3 separate regions of the Homo sapiens genome follow, and all the other regions are linked to region 2. Evidence: promoter capture Hi-C in 16 types of primary human blood cells and fetal thymus (Javierre and others, 2016). All regions are on one chromosome and are shown on one strand. Each heading gives the region's core, a stretch centred on a gene start or on the middle of the fragment in contact. The rest is flanking DNA. Distances are from core to core; before and after follow the strand shown.

Region 1 (2,700 bases), core at 71-2,570, 6.1 Mb after region 2:
CCTGTAATCCCAGCTACTCGGGAGGCTGAGGCAGGAGAATGGCGTGAACCCGGGAAGCGGAGCTTGCAGTGAGCCGAGATTGCGCCACTGCAGTCCGCAGTCCCACCTGGGCGACAGAGCGAGACTCCGTCTCAAAAAAAAAAAAAAAAAAAAAAAAAAAGAAAATACAAGTACTGAAATTTAAGTAGCTCTTTAGTAAATAAGAATAATTAACCTGGTGCAAGGGTTCTACCTTTATGAGGGAGAAATTGGAAAGCATATATGTACTTACAAATTTTCATAACTTTTCTTATCGTTGTAAAATATACATAAAACTTAGCATTTTAACCCTTTAAAATGATGTACAGGTCAGCAGCATTAAATACATTCACACTGTTGTGCAACCATCACCATTCTCCATTTACAGAACTTTTGCATCTTCCCAAACCGAAACTCCGTACCCATTAATTAATTGGTGCATTTTGCCTTGTTTTTTCTAATAGGATTTTTCTTTCTGTTGATTTGTATGAGCTCATTTTAAATTAGAGAGACCAGCCCTTTGTCTTCTGCCAATTTATTTTTTATTAATTCTATTTGTTGGTGATTTTTTAAAATCTGTTCAGAAAATTAAAAATTTTCCGTGGAATCATAAAATCGTGTTTAGATTATAAAATCCTTTATGATTTGACTGTTGCCGTCTTGAAAGTCTTCAACATCTCAATGTTATGAATATCTGCACTTACATTTTCTTCTAAGTTTTTGTTAACATTTCAATATTTAATCCACAAAAGATTCACTTACATGTATTTTTTCCCCAAATGGGTAATCAGCTCTTCAAACATTATTTACTGGACAGGCCATCCTTCCCCTACTAACGTAAATGTCATCTTTTCATATTAAATTTCTCCATGCGCTGGGTATTTACTCCTACATCTTCCATCTAGTGCTTTTGAGAATTTTCAACACTCTTCCATTACACGCATGTACCATCATTTATTTAATCAATCTTCTATTGGTAGGCATTTGGGACGTTTCCTGCTCTTCCATACTAAACAATGCATAGAATTTTGGACTACATTAAATAATTCTCTGCCTCAGTGGTTCAAGTTGCGTAAATTATGCGTTTACACTTTTCTTCGGATTACTTTTAAAATGACAACCACTATGTTTTGCTGGTCTCAATTACCAGAGAATTGGCAAGAAACCTGACAGCTGGGGCTTAGGATTCCCTGCGCCAGACCTCCGAGCTACACCAGAGGGCGTACTTTCCTTACTCGGCCTCGGCCACATCCGGGTTCCACCGCAGATTCGGGCAGGGAGCGGGCGGAACCTTTCTACCGCGTCTCTAGCTAACACGCACGGCGGGGACAGTTTAGGCCTCCGCGCACCGTTCGCCGGGAGTCTTGCAGTTTGCTTGGTGCAGGGAAGGCGGGCGCGGAGGTTCTATCTGTTTCTTCCTCCTTCGTGAGCAGCATGGACGTGCTAGCGGAGGAGTTTGGGAACCTGACTCCGGAGCAGCTGGCGGCGCCGATCCCGACTGTAGAGGTCAGTGCCAGGCACGCAGGGAGCGTCAGGGACAAGGATGCGCCCTGAGGGGGCGTTGCCCGGAGTGCTCGGGCCGCCAAGGGGGCGGGCTGGCGGTTTGTGCGCATGCGCCGGGCTTCTGCGCATGCCCAGAGCGTCGCGCTTGCGAGTCTTTTTTCCAGAGCCGGCCTCCGCGTGCGCGAGTGAAGGCTGATCCCAGAGGAGCTGTCAGCCGCTGCGGGGGCCGAGAAGCCCCGCTGCTGGCTCTAGGGTTGGAGCTCTTCCAGCATAGGTGTGCGTGGGGAGGACTGACCCTCGCACTTACTGTGGGGGACGTATTGCATGTTTGCAGTCTTACAGAGGACACGGGGCCAGGGAGCTCAGGCCATTTGCATGAGGCACCACAGCCGGCTGTGGGGGTAAAACCAGATCGTCTGAATTCCAAGCTAGTCATCTTTCCTTTTAACTTGAAGTTCCAGTTTGGGTTGCAGGGGAATTTTAAACGCCCTCAATATTTACTAAAGAATTTGCCTGTGTGTTTTCTGGGGGAGAGACTCCACAGCTTTCATCAGCTTCTCGGAAGTTAAGGACAGCTGCCCCACAGCGAGCTGCCCAGTGAAGTGCGGCTGTCGACATATTTTGTTATCTGATAAGGCACATTTTGTAATCTCTCTGAGCCTCAAAATCTACACTGACGTGGAATAGGGAAGTGGAGACGTGGCCGGAGAAGATAGCAAAGGAGAGATTTCAGGGAAAGAGAACAGGATACTTGAAACCTCCTCGGCAAGACCATTGGATGTTTTTGAGGAAGGAAAGTAAATCCAGTAGTATTAGAGTGAAGAAAAATAGAGGAGAAGAGATAAAAGACAGGGTTAAGTAAGGGTCTTGATTATGAAAAGTTTCAATAAACATCTGACAGAGCTTGGACTTTGTCTTGGAGCAGAGCTTTTGAAGGGTTTAAGCAGGAAAGTGACATGATCAGTAAGTCTATCGGATTATAAGAACCTCCTTGGCTAGGCGTGGTGGCCTGTAATACCAGTAGTTTGGGAGGCCAAGGCGGGCGGATCACTTGGGCTCAAGAGTTTGAGAACAGCTTGGGCGACATGGCAAAACCCTGTTTCTACAAATAATACAAAAATTAGCTGGGTGTGGTGGCGTGCACTTGTCCCAGCAACTCAGGAGGCTGAGGTGGAAGGA
Region 2 (2,700 bases), core at 201-2,700:
ACCCTTACTATAGAATAGTAGCCAGCCATTAGAAAGAATGAAGTAGAGCTATGTTTATAGTGTGCAAGGATCTCATTAAGTAGGGAAAAAGAAAAACCCAAAACAAAAATTTTTTAAAAATGAGCTGAGCAGAACAACTTGTATATTATTATCCTACTTAGGTAAAAATGAATTCCCAACCTATGTAAAAATGTATGTAAATAAATAGAAAGATCTGGAAGAATAAACTTCAAACGAGTAACCTTGGGGAAGAAGGATTGTAATGGTGGCTGATGAAAGAGGATGTACCCTTTTAAAGTGTACAATTCAGTGTTTCTAGTACATTCACAAAGTTGTGCAGCCATCACTATTATCTAATTTCAGACCATTGCATCATTCCACAAAGAAACCTATAGTTCGCAGTCATTCTTCATTCTTCCGTACCCCAGTAAAATTTTAATTAAAATTAAATTTAATTAAAATTAATTAAAAAAATTAAAGAATGATAAGGGAATAACTTAGAACTTCTAGAATGTTTTTTCTAGATTTGCAGGGGGAAGTGGGTAGAATCCAAGAACTTAAGCTCTCTTCTCCAACTATGCATAACCGCAAAAGTATGCCCAACTATACATATGTTTACGATAAAATGACAGAAATAAAAATCCACCACCCTCAAATTCCTTCTGTAACAGAAGTTACCCGTCTAATCACTCAAGAAATCTTATCCCCAGACATTGTGGGCAGAGCGGAGACTGAGGAGGGGAGGCCAGAAAGTGATGGGCGGAGGTGGGCAGGAGGGTACTCGACGGGGTAGGTGGAAAATACAGCGGTACAGCCTGTTTTCCATAGACAGTCTACCTCTCTAACCTTCATTAAACAAGTAGGCTAGATTAAAGAAATAACTCCTCTAGCTCAAGGAATTTGCCCTCTAGTACATTAACCCCTTGTTGCTGTAAGTGTAGCCTAGGGACCAGCAGCATTGGTGCCATCTGGACATGTATTAGAAACGCAGATTATCAGACCCTACTCCTCAATCAGAATTTGCACTTTCACAAGATCCTAGGGATTCGTATGTATATTAAAGTTTGAGAAAAAACGCTTTCCTGCACGCTCCAAGGGCACTTCACCACAGTAACCCCTAAAAAGCCTCAGTCCTGGGTCCCCCAGTCCAGTGCCTGGTAGGGCAGGAAGGGGGCGGGGCTAGGAAATGGGCGGGGCCCTGGACCAATGAGGAGCAGAGTCCCAGCCGCCTGCTCCCTTCAGCTGCCCCCTCCACCTTCACTGCACATTTGGCTAGGATATACAGGGCTACCTGTCCTCCTTTTCCGGCAGAAGCCATCTCTACGGTTCCTGGAACTTGGCCCGTTCAGCCCTGGGCCCGGAAGCTCGTTCTGACTGACAAGTCTACGGAACCTCGGAGTCAAAAGAACCGCCATAAGCTCGCGCGCTGGCTCCTCCCCTGGCACCATAGCCCCGCCCCACCTGACACCCGGGGCGGAGAGAAGTACTGGCTCCGCCTCTTCCGAACCGGCAGGAAGTGACGTCATGCCCCCGGCCGGCAGGTCTTTTAGTCTTTTTCCCCCTCCCTTACTCTTCGTCCCCGGTCCCTCCCCTCCCCACCCCTTTCCTTCTAGCTCCGACGTTTGCGGCCGCGGGGGCGGCGGAGGATATGGAGTAAAGCCAGAGTCAGTGGCCAGGCACGAAGGCAGAGCAGGAACAGCCAGGAGGCGTTTATTAGGGGGGCGGGGGGAAAGAGCCCCAGCACCGCCCCTCCTGGAAGAAGGAAGAGGTAAGTGACCGGCCGCCGGCACCGACCGACCTCCCTCACCGGCGGCTCTCTCGCCTGGGCTCCCGGAGCCGGCGAGGAGGGAATGGAGGACTCGCGCCCGGGTTAGGCCTCCCAGGGCCGCTCAGGCTGGTGGGTGTTGCCTGGTGACGGGCCTGCCGGCGGCCGGCCGGGCGATCGGCGGTCGGCGCCCGCGCAAAGCGGGGCTGGACGAGCAGCGAGCTCCGGGGAGCGGATCCGAGAGGGCCGAGTCCTCGAAAGAGGCCTTGAGGCGACGGGAGACCCGGGATCGAAGTCAGCTGCCGGAGGGAGAGCCCCCCATGCCGGCTCGAGAGCTCGGGTTTCGGTGGTGGAGAACGTAGTACCTTTCGGGGACATTGGACACTACTCTAGGACCGGGTGAGAGAGTTCACCTCAGTTCTGAGGTCCGGAATCCGGTAGCCTGGGTCACCAGCCAGGGCCCTGCCGCCCGCCGTCCTTCTCTGACAGTAGCTTTAGTTCTGGAATGGAAGGTTATTGTGTGTGAGGTGGGTGGGGCAGGGGTTTTGTTAAGAGAAAAAACCCCACGGTTACTCCTGCAGTCTTGTTTTTCTAAACGGGAGAATACGGATGGAGGAGGGTTTAGACCGATAAAGCTTGCAAAAACTTATTGGACTTTGAGCACATACCTGTGATCCGTAATTAAGGAGGCCATATTATCAAATCCACCCTCTAAGGCACTCGAGGAGGCTCCAGACAAGCTGCTTAAAAGCGCTATGCCTGTAGTGACTTCATTGGAAGGTGTCAACTATTTTTTAGTACGTCAAACTCAGGAATTATTTGTGATGACACTTTCTAAAAACATTGGATACTATGAGTGAGTTTTCTAAGTAGCCTATCTCCGTTCTGAAAAATAAATAGTTTAGCAAAAATGCTCCAAATCAGCCTGCCACTGT
Region 3 (2,700 bases), core at 2-2,501, 6.0 Mb after region 2:
AGTTACATAATTTGCCAGGTCCAGTGCAAAATGAAAATGCAAGGCCCCCTTTCAAAAAGCACAGTATTAAGAATCTCAACACAACAGCAGCAATGTATTAAACCAAGCACAGGGCTCTTCCAAGGGTGGGGCCTTGTGCAACTGCCCAGACTGCACGAACATGAAGCCAGCCGTGGGAAAGAAGCTTGGAACATAATGAGAAGCTCAGAAACTCAGATAAACACAGTAAGAGAAGCCTCACAACTCCCATAGAGAGAAATAGGGGACAAGATCACTGGAAGTATTTAAATTATTCTCTTGTGTTCCTCATATTCTGTCCTAGATGAGTCCCGTATAGCTAAATTTGCATTACATTAAATCAGTACAATATGCAACTCCACTAGAAAAGTTATAAGGCTGAGAGGTTGCAAATCCAACTGTAATTACATTTTTAGATTTTTGTCAATGATTTATTATAATTTAAAACTCAGATTTCAGATGTGTAAAAAGAAAATGAGTATTTCTATTTCTTCATCGAACAAAAATTTTGATCTGCCCTTAGTCTTTTGCCAAGAGTGATAGACCACATTTAGTCTACCGTGTAATTTACAGGGAGAAAAAAAAACTGTATTACTGTGAGTTCTCTAAGTGGTTCAAAAAGGTAAGTTAGAAAAACTAGGTGTAATAATATGTCTTCTTCAAATAAAATGCTAATTATTTTACTTCTAAAGAGGTTGCCTTTTCAGATTTTGTTGTTTTTTTTTTTTCCTCAGAAAGCCATAAACATAACCTGAGCAGGGAAGATTTTGTGTTATGACTGTCTGAGCCCTCTGAGCAACAATGTGATACAAGGCTCATTTTTGAGGGAACTGCCTTATATTTTACAGCACTCCATTTTTTCAAAGTGTTGTTTTTGTTTTGTTTTGTTTTGAGATGGAGTCTCGCTCTGTCGCCCAGGCCGGAGTAAAGTGGCGTGATCTCGGCTCACTGCAACCTCCACCTCCCAGGTTCAAGCGATTCTCCTGCCTCAGCTTCCAGAGTAGCTGGGATTACAGGTGCGTGCCACCACGCCCAGCTAATTTTTTTGTATTTTTAGTAGAGACGGGGTTTCACCGTGTTAGCCAGGATGGTCTCGATCTCCTGACCTTGTGATCCACCTGCCTCGGCCTCCCAAAGTGCTTGGATTACAGGCATGAGCCACCGTGCCTGGCCCAAAGTGCTTTTATACACAAGTCAGGCCAAGGGCAGTTGGTCAGGTAATTCACAGAAGGGTTTTCAGATAGCAAGTTATTTAACATTAAAGTAACAGAAGATAGTATTTCCAGCATCTTTTCTTATCTCAGCTTGGTTCTCTGATGTTACAGTTGAACTTGCTTTGACAAAAGCTGCTTTCCTGGTGGCTTTGAGAGCTACATATCTGAACTTTAAAAGAAGTGTCATGCCTAGGATCAGGCAGCTGGTCACTCCAGTATAAAGGACAACTACCCTGACTCATGGTCACCTGCTCCAACTTATGTCATAGCTCAAAACAATACTTAAATCCTTACAAAGCTAACAAAGGAAGTAATGTTGCCATGTGTCATTGTCACAGAATTACCAGAAGTTTGGGGGATTTGGGTGTTCATCTTTCTATTGTGGAGTTTTTAGGGTGGTGATGGCAGTTGTGTGGTGGTTGTCATTTGGCAGGAATTGAAATTGGAGGCTTCTGTCATTCTGATTACTTATCCAACGAATGACACAAATAAGAGCATGTTTGTAGGGAAGAACTCAGGTGGGGACAGCACCTTCTATTTAATCTCTTAACCTGTATTATTAGGTTGTATATTTTAGGAGAAGAGAGGAAAGTGGCAAAAGGAGGCACAGATACAAATTTATACAGATCACCAGCTAAGTTTGGCCACAGTGGTTTGCCAAAGAATTTCAATAACTAATACTTAGAGTGCTTACTGTGCACCCTGCTAAGCACTTCACATGCTTTATTTCACTTTATCCTCAAAATAACCCAAGGAAATAGCTATCATTGTTATCCCCAGAGACCAAGATCTCATGGATAGTGAATGTCAGAGCCAGGACTGGAACCATAGAGGAGTCTGTGTTGTAACCACTGAACAACTGACTTTCTACCCTGCTTTAAAATGTTGCCTGTTGTTTGTTGTTGTTGTTTTTGAACGGTGGTGGCCAATCTGCCTCCACAATCCAGACATAATTTCGGCACTAAACAGAAATACTTTAGTCTATACAAACTTCATGTAAGTAGTTCCTGCATGAAACTATTTCCCAAGTAATACAGCACCGATTTACACCTGGCAGAAGGCATAGTTTTGATGTGAACAGTTGGGGGAAGCTTGTTTCTCTACACCCTCAAGCACGCCCACAGCAGGAGCTGAGCAGCAGGCCAGACGGCACAGAGCCCTCCTGGGACTGGTTATTTACATTAACCAAGGTGGAAACTTCTCCCGGAGATAGGTGCTGCCAAGAACCCTAGAGGAAGTAAGACGCTTTATCTTTTGCACGCACGCCAAGTCTTCAGAGGGCCTGGATGGGTGTGACTCCAAGGAGCTAATCGTCCCGTGCAGGTGCAAATCTAGACCCGTGTTTATGTGGAGGTGTAGACGCAACTGGAGATGACCCGGTTAGTGGCTGACGTGCGTGGGAAAGCCCACCAGCAGCGTTGTTGGTTGGGTTGTCTCTGTAAGTGTGGACAGTGTGTTGGTGGGCACC

The links. Contacts are between HindIII fragments. The CHiCAGO score rates a contact against its expected background, and 5 or more counts as called.
Region 1: a contact is called between the fragment with the promoter of POLR3B here and the fragment with the promoter of DEPDC4 in region 2, in 1 of 17 cell types (neutrophils). The highest score is 5.5, in neutrophils.
Region 3: a contact is called between a fragment that was not itself captured here and the fragment with the promoter of DEPDC4 in region 2, in 1 of 17 cell types (fetal thymus). The highest score is 6.0, in fetal thymus.

What each region holds. Positions count from the first base shown.
Region 1 is chr12:106,356,428-106,359,127 of GRCh38, forward strand. It overlaps POLR3B (RNA polymerase III subunit B), which reads left to right and starts at 1,321. Exons shown (of 28, transcript NM_018082.6): 1 at 1,321-1,524. The coding sequence starts at 1,453. The HindIII fragment of the contact is 8,226 bases long and covers 1-2,700 here.
Region 2 is chr12:100,265,629-100,268,328 of GRCh38, forward strand. DEPDC4 (DEP domain containing 4) reads right to left here and starts at 1,451. Exons shown (of 10, transcript NM_001364818.2): 1 at 1,292-1,451. The coding sequence starts at 1,448. SCYL2 (SCY1 like pseudokinase 2) reads left to right here and starts at 1,549. Exons shown (of 18, transcript NM_017988.6): 1 at 1,549-2,164. RefSeq lists enhancers at 1,294-1,373, 2,044-2,113, 2,124-2,183 and silencers at 1,744-1,793, 1,894-1,973. The HindIII fragment of the contact is 4,398 bases long and covers 1-2,398 here.
Region 3 is chr12:106,299,439-106,302,138 of GRCh38, forward strand. It overlaps a transcript of TCP11L2 not described here. Among named protein-coding and RNA genes, the nearest start is that of TCP11L2, 1.9 kb to the right of the region's middle. The HindIII fragment of the contact is 2,139 bases long and covers 183-2,321 here.